Regions from separate parts of the Homo sapiens genome. Here region 1 is linked to region 2. The links are contacts of gene promoters, found by promoter capture Hi-C in blood cells and fetal thymus (Javierre and others, 2016). All regions are on one chromosome and are shown on one strand. The core of a region is centred on a gene start or on the middle of the fragment in contact, and the rest is flanking DNA. Distances in the headings are between cores, read along the strand shown. Region 1 holds the start of RAE1 (ribonucleic acid export 1). Region 2 holds the start of STX16-NPEPL1 (STX16-NPEPL1 readthrough (NMD candidate)).

The links. The method cuts DNA at HindIII sites, captures the fragments that hold promoters and counts their contacts. A CHiCAGO score of 5 or more calls a contact.
Region 1: a fragment that was not itself captured here is called in contact with the fragment with the promoter of STX16-NPEPL1 in region 2 in 1 of 17 cell types (total B cells); the score reaches 5.4 in total B cells.

The regions. Positions count from the first base shown.
Region 1 is chr20:57,350,047-57,357,909 of GRCh38, reverse strand. It overlaps RAE1 (ribonucleic acid export 1), which reads right to left and starts at 6,655. Exons shown (of 12, transcript NM_003610.4): 1 at 6,488-6,655; 2 at 3,782-3,878; 3 at 3,094-3,198; 4 at 1,372-1,464. The coding sequence starts at 3,871. It also overlaps the pseudogene MTND1P9. RefSeq lists enhancers at 6,186-6,265, 6,456-7,024. The HindIII fragment of the contact is 1,499 bases long and covers 2,181-3,679 here.
Region 2 is chr20:58,648,599-58,656,308 of GRCh38, reverse strand. It overlaps STX16-NPEPL1 (STX16-NPEPL1 readthrough (NMD candidate)), which reads right to left and starts at 5,056. Exons shown (of 23, transcript NR_037945.1): 1 at 4,171-5,056. It overlaps STX16 (syntaxin 16), which reads right to left and starts at 5,026. Exons shown (of 9, transcript NM_001001433.3): 1 at 4,171-5,026. The coding sequence starts at 4,302. LOC107985410 (a long non-coding RNA gene) reads left to right here and starts at 6,674. Exons shown (of 3, transcript XR_005647058.2): 1 at 6,674-7,320. RefSeq lists enhancers at 3,657-4,160, 3,998-4,267, 7,297-7,710 and a silencer at 5,764-6,123. The HindIII fragment of the contact is 2,998 bases long and covers 4,410-7,407 here.

The DNA.
Region 1 (7,863 bases), core at 1,681-4,180, 1.3 Mb after region 2:
ATAAGCAGCTCATTTAACTTACACATACTCATCACAAGAATTCCTCTGACTGCTCCTATCATCATGGCCCCTAGCCATAATATGATTTATCCCCACACTAGCAGAAACTAACTGAGCCTCTTTTGATCTAACAAAAGGAGAGTCAGAGTTAGTCTCAGGCTTCAACATCGAATATGCCGCAGGCTCATTTGCCCCCTTCTTTATAGCAGAATACATGAATATTATCATAATAAATGCCCTAACTACTACTATTTTCCTAGGAGCACTACACACTGTATATTTACCAGAACTCTATACCACAAATTTAATTACCAAGACCCTTCTAAACCACTCTCTTCTTACAAATTCGAATGGCATAACCCCAATACCGCTAAGACCAACTCGTACATCTTTTATGAGAAAACTCCTACCACTTACATTAGCATTTTGCAGATGCTATATCTCAATGCTTGTCCTAATTTCCAGCATCCCACCCCAAACATAGGAAATATATCTGACAAAACAATCACCATACGTTAATGCAACATGCTGAGCGCAAAGGTTGCACCCTATAGGATTTATTTAGATGATACTCTTGTAAAAGCAAAACTATAGGGACAAAAAAAACAGATGAGTAGTTTCCAGGGGCTGCGAGCTGGGAAGGATTTGACGACAAAAGGAAGGAAGAGAATTTGGAGGCCGATGGATCTGTTCTATATCTAGAACACAACTCTATGCATTTCTTAACACTCACAGAGCTGTATACCAAAAAGGTTCAGTTTTACAGCAGGCAAATCAGACTCAATAAACCTGACTAAAGGAACAGGTACAAGGCCTCGGAAGGGGCCTCAAGGCTTAGCTTCTTCAGCACTGCAGTGTGTCTGCCTGTCACCAGGCCCCTTAACATTCTCACTACTGTTGGGTTCAGCCACCAGCAGCAATGGCAGGAGAAGGGAGGAGAGAGGCTGGGGTGTTCAACCCCTGGCTCCCCTCGCCAGGCCGAGGCCCGTCTACAGCTGTTCATCCCCTGGCTCTCCCGCGCCAGGTGGAAGCCCCTCTACAGCTGCAGCTCATGCTGTGCTCCAGGAGGCCCGCCCACTGCAGCTTGGCACCGGTGTTTCACCTTCCCTGCTGGCTTCTTCATAAATTATCCCTTAATCATTAAACTCTCCTCAATCACACACACAAAATTTAATACAAGAAAAGCTTTCAAAGAAAGTGGCTAACTAAAGCCAACATTAAGAACATCAATAAATGACTATATTTATGTTCAGAAACTTAGAATTCCTACAATATGAACACATATATGCTATTTGTGTTTGGATTATTAAATATTCTAAATCATTCTGTACTTTAAGTAAAATGGAACACGAGAAATGGAAGGGAACGTACGTCACTCCAGCAGACATCAAGCACAGGCCCAGTGTGCATCTGCTGGGCTTTTGGAATGGTCTGTCCACTGTCTTGAACTTCCCAGCAGCGAACCTGTAGTAACAAAAAAATTCAATGCAAACAAAGCAATTACGATGTATTGCTTGCATTTAACACCTAAAAACTAATGGGGTACACCTTAACCATACATAGACTTCTCATAGCAACCTAATTATCTAACTTCAAGAACAAAGGAATTAAAATATCTATGAAAGCAACTGTTTTCTTCGCCTAAGCTATTAAAATAAACAAATTCTATTGCTTACACATAAAATTGCAGATAATTTTCTCAATGCATCTATGAGATATGTCTTTTAAAGTAGAATATCACTTACCCATTACCATTCAGAGAATCAAGACCAAAGTAGAAACTTACCTCTTTTCTGAATACTTTATATAATCTCCCCTCCGTTAAAAAAGTAATACATTTTAGAGATTTTGTAAATATGGCAAAAAAATAAAAATCACCCTAATCACACCACAGACAACCACAGCTAATGGTTCTGTGTGCTCTTAGTCTTCTTTCCATGTACGCATATTTTCTGGAAGACACTAGATTATACAGTGTCTTCACTTTTGCAGCTACAGCTTTCCTCACCTGCATCACTAGCCTGTTCAACTTGAAACATCCTTTTTTTAAGCAGCAAATAATCTGAAATCTTTCTAAAAATTACATGTAGAAAGCAAGCTTGCTCAACCTTGACTACCATCCTCCCTCCTGTTCTCCTAACCCCTGCTGCCCCTGTGCTGTAGGCTACAGTTCAAAAGCTTTTCCAAAAACTTACAATGGTATTCCATCATACAAACATACTATACATTGCCATTACTACTGGATATTAAAATTTTCAAAATTTTCACAAGTTCACAGTGCTTTGGCTGTTATAAAGGTTAATTTAGATAATGCAGATGAAGTACATTATCAGATTTCCTACTCAAGTCCCAGAAGGGTATCAGTGAGATAAAGGGTATAAGCTGAAGGATTTTTGATAACTATTGCCAATTATCCTGTGGAAAAGCCAACTTACATACCTACCAGCCATACATGCAGGGTTTCAGCTTATCCTTGCTGGCACTATTATTCTTTTAAACTTTTAATTTTGTTAATTTAATAAAAAAAAGTCTTAAATTTGCATTTATCTGATTACAAGCATGGATGAATGGTTCAGGTTTATTCTTTCTTTTGTGAAGTCCCTCTTTACACCCTTTGCTTATTTTTCTACCAGAGTTTTCTTTCTTTTAGTAAACTGTAATTTTTTTGTCTTTCTTTTTGTACATGATGAGTAAGTATCTAGGCAAATCTGTGCTATTATTTAACGTTGAAAAAGTTTCATACATGCCTGAGGAACACTGTCAGGATGCCAAGAAAGGGAATTTGTTGGTGTGTGCCACTGGGTATAATGTTCACTCTGGATGAATATGATATTTGATTTGGGAATAAACTTCAAGAGACTGAACTAAAGTAGAAAATTTCGAGCAACACATATGATTGTGCTTTCCTAACAAAAACGGGTGTAAGAATAATGTCTGCCATTCAGAAGGGTTCACACCCCCTAAATTGATTTCTCAAAAAAGGCCATAAATAAGTCCAACTGATTCATTTACTTGGGAAACAACGGAGCTAAAGCTAACCTTGGCCATACAAAGAGAGATGATTTCTAGAACACGTATTTAAGGAGCACTTACATCATTAGCCCATGATCCTGCAATAAGAAAGTTCCCCGGCAAGGTTGGTGGGCTAAAAGACAGACAACCAATGCTATCATCAGGAGATGATGTTACTTCAATATCCTGCGGGAAAAAAGTCAATGTTAAAATGTATGCACGCTCACAACTTCATTCCAAATTGTTTTCTTTCTCACTAATTACCTCACGGTGGCCTTTCCTTGTGTACAAGAACTAACTGAATTAGACCTTTCCTTACTTTGATCAAAGACAGGAGTAAAAAATAAGCTAGAGAAAGTACCAGCACCACCAGGACTAGCAGTAGCAGCTGCTAATGAAATGCCCATGGTCTTGTTTTCTAAATGACCAGTTCACTCTGGCCCCACAGTGCTAGATCACAGTTTTCACCTGCCATCCCCTCTCTCCAACCATGGGAATTCTGAGTCAACAGTCCTGGCTGGGCCAGGCCCTGGGAATCTGCACCGGAATCTGCACCTTGGGTGATTCTGGAGACCTGGCAGGCCAGGAAGAACAGGACACAAGTACGGGGACACATTTTCTGTGCTCCAGTGTTTCAGAAACATGAGTTAGACAAAGTTTCAAAGCTTTCAGCCTAAAGGAGGCTCCCAAGTCATCTCGGGTTCTGTCCTTGATGGGAGAAACTCTGCCCAAACTCTTCCTACAAGCCCCAGGAAGCTTTTCGTGGTACCTTCATGGGATTGTGATTGTCTGTAGTTGCACTGCCAAACATGCTGGTCCCACTGGTTCCAAAACCTGAGGTTGTTCCAAACAGGCTCATTTTGAACCTAAAAAGTAATGAAAAATGTTAAGGATGGGTTTTCTCTTAATATCACTGAGAGGCAATGGTAAGATAATTAACTGGCAGAAGAGAAATACTCAAAGTGGCTTGAGGCCAGGCTTCACTTTTCAGACAAGAGCGCAATGAGCAGAGTGCTTTCAAAACATAAACCTTCTATTTTAGAGTAGTTTTAGGTTTCCAGAAATAGTAAAGATAGAATTCCCATACACTCCATATCTAGTTTCCCCTATTATCTCATATTAGTACGGTTCATTTGTTACCATTAATAAACCAGTATGGATACATTGCAGATTATTTTGTAGGCACCAGCTAGAAAATAAATTCACTCATTTTTTACATAGAGACCCTGAGCTGCGCAGCAGGAATATAACAGTAAACAAGATCGCAGGTCCCCGTGCTTTCAGGTTTCCACCTAGTGGGCATTCACTTTCCTACTAATTTCTACATTCTAGTTTAGGTCAGCATCCGCATGAAACTACCTAGAACAACCAGTCCGGGAAGCGAATCAGCAATTTCTTCGTAAAAGTTTTAAAAAGGTCGGGCATCGTGTTTTGGACATTTACCCAGCAAGAACCTCTCCCACCCTGGGTTTTTTCTTGAATATCATAATCTAACAGGCCCACCAGGGTTTGGTCAGGGCCTCTTGCCACTCAGGAGTTGGGACTCTAATCTCACCAGTCTTCATTTTCCTGCTCTGCAAACATAGAGAACATTAACACATTCTCCAGGGCTGCTCTGGGGATCAAATCAGATTATGTAGAAAATGCAGTATCTAGTTCATAGTGGGTACAATAAACGACTTTTCCCTTCTTTTTTCCTTCCAACTCCCCGAGGAGTTACGTACACTGAAACCACATTTCAATCCTACTACCTGTTACGCTGAAAAGTCCTCCATACCAGTCACCTCTCCAAAGGGAGCCAAATGGCTGAGTGACATCCTTGCTAACAAGACAACACAGAACGGAGAAACTGCAAGGAATTTGGGGAAGGCATTTGAGTTTCCTCAGCTTCATGAAAAATAAGTGCAGAACAAAAGGTCAGAGCAACAGCTACAAGCACATGTACATTTTAGTGAACGTGAGGGGATGTGGTCCTTGCCGGCCACACTTCTGCCCTCAAATGCAGAGGTACTTGAAACACCAGTTGGCTGTATGAACGAACAAAGGCATGACAAGGCTTCTGCAATCAGTCCAGGTGCTGGTTACACGGCTTTGGACGGGTCACTTAACCTTGATTTTCTCATCTGTAAAACAGAGACACTAATATCTACTTCACAGAGTTATGAGAACTAAATGAAGCCACACACACACACTGCCTAAAGCACTACAGGTTCTTAATAAATATTACTTTCACTCTATTCCTCTACCTCAACCTTCAAGTTGGGAGAGAACATTTCTGCCATTAGGGATGAACTTAGGAAAAAGAACATGGTAGGTGAGAATCGTTCGTGTTAGTCAGTGTGGACCACACCTTATGCTGAGCACTGGGAAGCTTCCAAAGTTCAGAAGGCACAGTCATCTGTGGGACCCACCTAATCTCTTCCCGCTCTCTCCCGCCTTGCTGCACCCCAGCCCTCCTAGCTCTGCTGGCTTCCTTTCTCCGCTGAACACAACAAGCTCATCCCTGCCTTGGAGCAAACCTAGTGCTGTTCCTTCAGCTTGGGATGATTTGCTTCTCCCTCCCCACAGCTACCTCCGTTTGAATCTTCATATCCCAGTTCAAAAGTTGCCTCCTCCGAACTTCTTGGGGTGATGAAAATGTCCCAAATTTGAACTTGCCATGTTTACGCAACTGCATAAAATTTCCAAACTCACAATATACACTTTCAATGGTTGAAATTAATGTTATTTTATACTTCAATAAAGCTGTCACACGTATTCTTTTTTAAAGTCACCTCCTCAGACGCTTCTTTGCCAACTTTAACATATCTAATCTTCCATCACATCCCCTGGAATTTCTTGTTTACACTCAAAATCTCTTCCCCCCCAGAATGCTGGCTCCAAGAGGGCAGCCACTTGCCTGGATTCTTCCCTTAATGCATACTGGGTCCCACAGTACAATGCCTGGCCCAGGGCGGCTGGTGTTTAATACTACTTGCCTGGAGAAGTACTGCCTGTACGGTGGCACCTATATACGTATACAATAAATACTTGGCGGGCTAAGACAGAAACAGACTTAGTTTCAGAGACTGGTAACTGCTACGAAAGAAATGGAGCAGGTTGACGTGGAAGAGGCTAAAAGGGGACGCCCTTCTGCAAAGCGGCCAGGGAAAGCTTCTCCCAGGAGCTGACATGTATCTGACGAGACGCCAGACGTGTAAGGGGGAGGGACAGAGGCGACACACACTGCATTAACGCAATGTGACCCTTCCCAGAGGCTCAGTTCCCCCACAAGAGAAACGATGGATTAGGCCCTAGGTGACCCCTAAGGCCATTTCCAGCTCTGACCTCGCTTCCAGGGCCCAGTAACGAAGCTTAGTCAACAGTCCCGCTCGCGCCCCAGCATCCCGCAGAAGCGCGCTCCCGGGAGGCAACTCGGCCTCTGCGGGAGCCATGGCGGCGGTTAACGACGGGACGCGCGCGGCACGGGGCCTACCTGGGGGTCTCGCCCCGGCGGAAAGCGGCGGCCGGGAGCAGAAGGGTCTGAGGAGTTTGCGAACCTGCTCTGGCGCGAAGGACGAGGGCCAGGAGCGCGGACAGAAATCCCAGGAGCCCGAAGCCTCCTTAAGCCTGCGGTAGAAACTGCCCTGACTACCGCGGAAACAACGCGCGTGCGCCCTGGAGCCACTTCCTGCGTCGCCCGGAAATCGTCGAAGAAAAAGGCTCCTTTTCCCGCAAGGCGACAGCACATGCGCAAAAACGCTTTACACCAGCAGTTTGCGAATTGGTCCAAAGTTGATGTAGCCGCTGCAAGTTACTAAGCGACTGCTTTTATAAATCCGCAACTGGCCAGGCGCGGTGGCTCACGCCTGTAATCCCAGCACTTTGGGAGGCCGAGGCGGGCTGATCACCTGGGGTCAGGAGTTCAAGACAAGTCTGGCCAACATCGTGAACCGCCCCGCCCCCCGCCCCCCCCGCCCCCCCGCGCCGCCCCCCCCCGCCCCCCGCCCCCGTCCCCCCGCCCCCCCCGCCCCCCCCGCCCCCCGTCCCCCCGCCCCCCCGCCCCCCCGTCCCCCCGTCAGTACTAAAAATACAAAAATTAGCCGGGCATGGTGGCGGGTGCCTGTAATCCCAGCTGCTTGGGAGGCTAAGGCAGGAGAATCGCTTGAACCCAGGAGGTGGAGGTTGCAGTGAGCCGAGACCATGCCATTGCACTCCAGTCTGGACAACAAGAGCGAAACTCCATCTCAAATCAGTCAATCAATCCGCAACTAGGGCTAGTGCAAGGTAGCTAGCTGTTTTCTCTTGTGAATTAATTATTGCATTTATCATGTATAAACATCTAAAAGATTCTGATTGCTTCCAATTCACGTCCAAGGCCAACCTCCGAGAAGCTGCTCTAACGCTGCCTCCGAACAAGGCGAGGTCGGCCGCGGGTTTCCCGCCCTGGCCTCTCCCTGTTTGCCCACTGGGGTACCCTGAGCCCACCTCGGGGCTCTTTGGGCCTCAGTTTCCTGCTGCATGGTGGGGAAAATGATGCCAGGGCTGTTCCTAATTAGGGTCAAGTGAAATCATACGTGAACTACTCTTACTAATAGAACTGTCTGTAGAAATGTTAAGGGATTCTTATTACTCACACACGCCCACTCCAAATATTTCAGTTGGTTGTTTCCTCCCAACCCCTACTTTTAGGAGCATCTGAAGAAGGAAGTGAAGGAAAAGACAGATCACAAGGAAGGGATTTCGTGAGGTTATGTAGCTACCCTGGATTCTCTCCTTCACTACTCAGTGTGGTCTGCGTGCCTTGACCTTCTTAAGGAGGTTTAGGATCTGGGGTATCTTTTTATAAAATGCAGATTCAGTAGGTCTACG
Region 2 (7,710 bases), core at 3,807-6,306:
TAACCTTGGACTGACAGCTACAACACTGTTGACTATGAATTTCTCCTTTTCAAATTAAAGCTAAAGTCAGGAGAAACAATGTATTAAAACAGAACTTGAGAAAATACTGTTGAATCGATAGGGCTGCTGGAAATCACCTAACCCAAACCCCTCAGTTTACAAATGAGGCAAAAAATGTCCGAAAAGATTAAAGGCTTGCCTAAGGACACACTCTGAGCCTGCAGCAGAACAGGACTTAGGCCTCAATTCTCAGATTCAATTCTCAGTGCTCTTTCCTTTATTTCATGCTGCCCTGAGGCATGAACGTGATGGGGCACTCAAAACTGAGGCCAAAGTAAAATGCATGGGAAATACGACTGTATTTTGTTAGGAGTGCATAAAGTCAAACCTGTCTGTTTTTTTACAATTAGTTTTACTAACTTTAATACAACTAAGAACACAAAAAAGTAGAATTTTGCTCAGTTCTGGATGCTGAAATCTAAAAAGGATACAGAAAAACTAAACATCATTTATAGGAAAAAAGCATAACCACTCTGAGCCGGGAATGCTAGGCCTGGAAAGAATTCTGGGTAACAAGGCTGCAGGGTTACCAGACAGAAGGAAGACCCGAAGGAACAGAACTAAAAGCAGGACCCCAGGACACAAATAGTTGGGATTAACAGGCAAAGACTTTTTAGTGGTAAAAATCATGGAGCTGCTGGCATTTTCCATCATTGTCATACACCATGGCCAAATAAGATAGGCATGAGGGGTTATCACAAATGGGGACATTAGGCCAAATGACCTTTAGGTTCCTTCTGGCCCTTGAGGCTTTGTGTTTATCTGGTCACTGCGTATCCTCCTTAAATTCCTGTTTATTTGACATATTTGCCTGAATGCTGCAAAACCCTGTATGCACGCACAGGGACACACAATAACCCCACTACAACAACCAAATTCTAGTTTTTTCCCTCAAACTAGGATGCAAAAAATGCATGTTTAAATTTTTTGAATGGCATGGCTTTAGGTGTGCTTTGCTTTGAGGTGTATGATACACACTACTCTGCAATTAATTTCTGCAGCTTTTTCCTGAAATAAGATGTCAAAATTCAGGATTACAATTTTTTTTTTAAAAAGTCTGTTATTTTAGGTGTATTTTTAGTTGGTATCAAATGCATCAAGATCAAAGTCTACAGCTTTTTCTTCTAATTGGAAACTTAAAATTCCAGGTTATTATTTTTTAAATTAAGTTAAACTTAGGTTTAATTTCTTCCTTTCAAATTGCCTGAGTGTTAGACATGTATTTACAAATTGCCTCTTTTTAACTGTTTTACTTTACTATAACAAATATACTTACTTTAAGTTTCTATTTAAAAATTTTCAAACATGCAGAAAAGCCTACAAAATGGTAAAATGTCGCACACATACTCATCACTAGACTTAACAATGAGTAACAATTTGCCTTATTTGCTTCCTCTATTTTTGGAGGGGTTTAAGGACTTAGGTAAGATGCCTTGACATTTCACCACTAAACATTTCAGTAGGCATCTCTAATAAAATTAGCAAATGTAATGTATTATAATTAATTCCTTAATGTCACCTAATACCTAGTCCATATTCAAAATTTGACAGATACGATTTTGTTTGGTTTGCTACATGGCTTTGAAATTTACAAGTCAGAAACAAGGCTTTAAATTTTTTGTGAGCTAGATATGCAGTGAAAAGCATTGCTAAGAGTTACTCAATAGATTTTACAAATTGTGTTAAACATGGCTTTTGCTTCAAAATGTTTATAAAGCTTTTCCAACTTCCAGAAAAGTTGAAAAAATCATAACCTCTATTTAGTCTTGTTAGCATTTCGCCGTACTGTGTGCAGAATAGATTTTGTTACGAATCACCTGTAAGCAAAGTGAAGATGTAACACTTCAACCCTAAATACTTCAGAAATTTATGACATGCCATTTTTTAACACAATTAAAATATATAAATCTGTGTTTTATTTTTAAATTTGAATTCAGGCAAACTATGTTTGTTAGACTGCAAAACCTATTTTTGAGATAGTATGGATTGACTATAAGGATATTTTAAATGATATGACTGCTTTCAATGATCTGAGAAAGATTTTAAATGGTCAGACTAATATAAATATTAACATTTTCAATGGTATGACATTTAGAAAACATTTTTTAACGTTCTTAGAAATGTATTTTTAGTTGGGTTTAGAAATCTATTTTCAAAAAACTGTGAGTTAGCTAAATGTATCTGTATATACCCTGACATATCTATTTTTCCAAACTGTATACGTTAACTATCCATTTTTAATTATTCTGCTTAGCTTAAATATTTTTTAAAATTGCCTAACTTAGAAAATAATTTTCTAAAGTGGTCTGATTCAGAGATGCACTTTTAAAAAGCTTCCCGTCTCAGATACTAGGTTTTTAAACTGTCTGACTTAATCGGGAAAAAAAAAAAAACCCTCATGTTACCCAAAGGTTCAGGGTATTTTGAACCTTAATGATTAAAAATTGAAAAATAAACAATATGTTTTTCAATTAAAACTGATACCTTAGAAATCTTAATATGAGTTTCAGTAGTTTTTGAGGCAGCACAAAATCAAGTCATTTAAGGAACATGCAGTTCTTATTTAACATTACTGAAGTTCCATTAAGGAATTGAATTCATCCAATTTCTACTCGATTTCTTGGATTATTTCTTCTTCAAAATTAGCGCTAGAATTAGCCTGTTTCTATGCTACCAGACATCTTTACATTTATTTCAATATAATGTAATTCCTTTCCGTTTATAAATGTAAAAAAAACCCTTCAACTTCTTAATTAACTGAAATCTCACACACACTCTGTCCCTAGTTCTAGGCTGTTTGACCTGAGTTTACATGCTTTTATTCCTGAAACCGCTCACACGGCTTAAAATGACTTTTCTATCAGTTATATGGCCAAAGACATTCTCCACCTGTGACTTACAAAAAGGAGAAACTGTCTTTGTAGACATGATAATCATGACATATGGCAAAATTTTCCTGAAGCATTTAGATAAAGCCATAAAGAAAAAAATAAACTGGCAATACAGTCCCTAAGAGGTGAAATGAATGTTCCAAAATTGCCTAATATCAAGTATAACCCCCAAGAATGTGGTCCTGGGATGGCTATTTCCCGCCTGTTCCAACGCTGCTTCTATTCCAACCTAGTCTGCCTACAGCAGGTAGCCTGAACTACAGCCAGTTTCATAACTTCACTTTTCAATTGAAGACATTACAGAGCTAACGATCACTGTCTGGTATAGATCATCCAGACTCGCCCCTTATTTAACAGAGCAGTAAACTGAGGCTCAGAAAGGGAAAAGTAGCCCCCATTAAAAACAAACCCCAAACAGTAATTTTTCCAGGACCACCCTTAAAAAACGCTACTGCTAGGCTAACTAAAGGTTGTGGTTAATTAAAAAAAAAAAGTGCTATTTTACGGGGTTAATTTTCACATATACCTCCTCAGGCTTTTTTTAAAAAGTTCGAATGGAGAGGAAAGCTTAATTTCCTGTCTGGGAAATGGAAAGTGAAGAGGCTAGCACCTTGAGTCTCACAAACGCAAGCCCCCAGGAAGAACAGTGAGGCAATTATTCACAGGGAACAAGGCCACACAGAGGGCTGCGGGGCCGTTAAAAGAAAACGGGCGGAAAAACAAAACAAAACAAAACAACAACACAACTCCCTCCTCTTTGAGGGGAGGGAGTCGTTCATTTTGCAAGGATTTGGGTCTACGATCCGGCGACCCAGCCCTTAGGACCAAACTGAGGCTCATTACTGGGGGGAGGGGAGCTTCAAACAAAACGAAACAAAAAGGCTTCAGAAAGGCCCAATGCTTCCCAATGTTAGCGTTAAAACATATGTAAATTACAGGCGGCCTGTAGCGCAGTGACGCCAAGGCGGGGGGTGCGGGGGGGGGGGTGCTGCGGAAGTGAGGAGAAGACCGGGCAGAGGTGGAGCTGCGGCCTCACAGCACCGCTTCTTCCTCATCCAGGGCTACAGATGCCCCCTGACTCTAGCCAAGAGATCTTATTATTCTTAGTCTTATTATTCTTATCTTCTCTTTTTAAACAGAGAGACAGACAGAGACAGACAAACAGGCAGAGCCGCAGTGCACACGGTCCGTGTGTCGGAGAGGCCGCCAGGAGACTCACCGCAGCAATGCTACGTGAATGCAGAGGGCTGGAGGTGATGTGACTACTCACTTGCTCGGCTAACAGCTGCCGGTTTTGGATGGAATTATTCCGCAACAACAAGAAAGCGTCGGTTAAACGCCTGGTGGCCATGTCTCACCCTTTGCGACCCCCCTCTCAGGGGCCCCCCGCCCACTTATATTCCTGATTTATTCACTTTCTTTCTCGTGGCCCGGCTGGCCCACCCTTTCACGGAAGCTTCTCGACAAGGCCTCAGGCCTCAAGCCAAAAAGATGCAGCTGTGCGCTTCGCCAAGGCGTAGAGACCCCTCCCCAAATAACTACCTAGGCTTTCCAATTGTCTGACTCCCCCTACCCAGGGCAGACTTCGATCTCTAAGCACTTGAATCCCCCCAATCCTTGCGTAGCGATCCAACGTCCCAGAGACCCCACCCCAATCCAACCTTGGATCTACAAGCGTCTAACTCGCCAATCCGGCTCTAGACTGGGAGGCCCTGAAGCCCCCTACTCCCTGAGACCCCCCGGAGGTCTCTGCTCTCTACCCCTAACTTTGGCTCGTAAGCGTCTAGGCCGTGCCCTGAGGTCTGGCTGTGACTCAGTTTCCGCACCAGAGGCCTGGCCTAGGCCCTCTTTGGACAACCGGAGCCAGGCTTGGGGCCTGGACTCGAGGGCGCCTGCAGCTCCCTTCTGGGGACTTGTCTGAACCTGCTGAGGCCCTGCCCGACCTCCTGACCCCTTCCTTTCCTGGACGGCCTGGTCCTCCACTGCCAGCAGGCTGCCGGCCTGCAGGAAGACAGCAGGGCCTGCCTCCCCGGCCTTCTCACTCCTCTTCTCCGGCTCCCTCCATCCCCGGATCTGACTGCAGCTCAGCCCCGGACCGTTTCCGTGCTGTGGTCCCGGGTTCTGGCGTTCCCCCCTGGCCCTCTTCCTGTCCGTCCCTCGCGAGTGCCCCCCTGCGACGCTCGCAAGCCTTGCTCGCAACGTTCCGGGCGCGGGAGCTCCCTGCACTCCTGCCCCGGGGCACGGGAGTGCTCCGCCCTCTCCCGGGGTGCTCCTCGGGCGCCCTGTTTCGCCTCCCCCAACTGGGTCCAGGCACTAGGAGCAGGCCAACGAGCAGGCCTGAGCCTGGGGAGCGTGGCCCCCAGGCTGCAAACCGCTGCCAGGGCCCTTGGTCGCTGAATTAGAGTGGAAGTTGCGCGGCAGGCAAATTTGGGCTCCCCAAGAACTGAAGTTTTGGGCGCGGGGAGTTGGAGCGGGAGAGGAAAAGTTGGAGACGACTGCCTCTGCAGGCCGAGCACGCTCTACTGCAGGCGGCGGCGCTCGCTTTTTTTTTTTTTTTTCCCACTCTGGAAAAAGATGTATCCGACAAACAACCACGAGGAAATAAAAGGAAAAAAAAAAAAAAAAAAGGAACAAGAACTCCAGGCAGCCTGGCCGCGCCGCCGCTGGCAGTCGGGGGTCGTCGGGGGCGCCCGCCCTCCCCAGCTGCCGCTTTCTGTAGGGGGCACTGCAGGGTCGTGGAATCTCAAGTGGAAAAGTTCCCCGAAAACTTTGACACCTCCCACCCCCCTCCCCGCGAAAAAAATCTCTGTTCCCTGCCTGGGCCCTGGCCCTGCGACCCCCGCGCCCCCCCGTGCCCCGGGCCGGGTTTTCCACGGTTGGCCGGGCCCAGGGCGCCCTAAGCACCTCGACTTGCCGCCCCGGGCCAGGTCGGCGGGGTTCGTGCAGGGGCTCCGTGGGGCCGCGTCGGGCAGGGGCCGCCCGGGCCCGAGCACGGCACCCACAAACAGGCTGGCGTCCCGCGACGGAGACCCGGGTCCGGCCCGGAGCCGCCCGGGAGGCTTGAGGCCAAGGGCCTGGCCCAGCGCGCGGCCGGAGCGGGTCGGGGGCGCAGAGCTGTGCGGCGGCGCCTTCCGGGCCCCGGGCCTGTGCAGGGCCGGCTTCCCCTTGCGGGGCGAGGCTGCGGGCCGGGCTGCGGTGCGGGGTTCCAACAAAGGACCGAGGCCCCAGAAGCGGCCCCCACGCGTCCTTTGTTTCTGCGTGGAACAAACTTTACACACGTGTGTGTTTTCCGAGGGTTTCCCGTGTGCTGAGCGCTTGCAAAGCGGAGTCGCGCCCGGGGAGACGCGAAGCCGGTGCCCGCGGCTCACCCAGGGACCCCAGCCAGACAGCGGCACCCGCGGGGCGCGTGCGGGACCCCCAGGCGACCGGGGGAAGCACCGGTAACCGCCCCCCACCCGTGCTTTTTCTCTCACGGAGAATGTTCCCGCGCGTTCGTTGTGCAACTAAAAATTAATGTGAAACATCCATTGAGGCAAATAACAAAATGCATCCAACGAAACCCACATAAAATCGAGAGAGCCGCGAGCAGGGCTGGGCGAGTTCACTGTGAGGACCGGCTCTGGCTTCCGCGCAGCGCGGAGAGCAGGGCGCTCGCCCGGGGACGCTTCGCAGCGGTGGAAGATTCGGGCGACAGGGGACTGGGTCGCCGCGCGGGCCGGGCTGGAGGCTGCAGGGACTTGCTGACAGGCCATCCAAAGACAGAGAGGCCCTGGGGAGGGAAATTCGGGGAGCCCGTGTGCTTAGCGTAGCGCCCCGGGAAATATTTGCCCAATAAGGGAGAGTTTGTCCCCACACTGCGGCAGAACCCCCCTGCGAGCTCTGACCCCAGCAGCACGGCCAAGCCCCCCCAACCCCGCTCCCCCCTTTAGGGGACAGGTATTTGTAAATAACAACTGAGCTGGTCGTCGGTAGGAGAATCAGATTAGAAACATGGTCCCCACTCTCTTCCTATCTCCCCAGCACTCATCACCTCACAAAGCAGGGGGGGACCTGTTTACTTTTCCTGGCGCTCTCCCCCAGGCTAGAACGTGATCTTCTTCCTACGCAGGGACAGTGTTTTATTCATCTTTGTACCCACTGCCATCTCATCTGGCTTGGAACAGGCTCCGGATAAATATTTTTTAAATATGTGCATGAATTAATGAGAGACTCGAGATTTAGTCCCCAAACTCTCTGACCTCCCTCGAGTGACTTTAAGCCTTTAGAGCCCTTATCTGTTAAGAAAAAAAGAAAAAAATGTGGGTTTTTCGTAATCCTCGTAATCCGCGCCCTGTCTACTTCTCTGGGGTTATTGTGAAGATCAAATAAGGTAAGTGAAAACTCTTTGTAAACTACCAGGTGCTGAGCAAATATTATATAGGATGGTTATTCATTCATTCCCTCCGTTCAGGAAGCTTAGCAAAGTAATTCCTGGTCTTGTGTTTCAGCAGATGGTGGTCGCCTTTCCTGGTCAGTCTTAAATATTTATTACAGGACAATCTCATTCTTACATTTAGGAGATCAATCAAGCTTCCATTTCTTTGAGCGAAATGAACACTGCTTGCACACAAATAATGGAAGAAAAATCCTGGTATTCCCAAAACAGCCACCCCAAGCAACCCAAGAGCCTAACAGCGGGGAGGTCAGGAAAATCCAAGAAGTTGGCATAGCAGCCCAAAGGCAGCACCGTGCAGCTCTGACCAGGCCCCAAAGGCAGCAC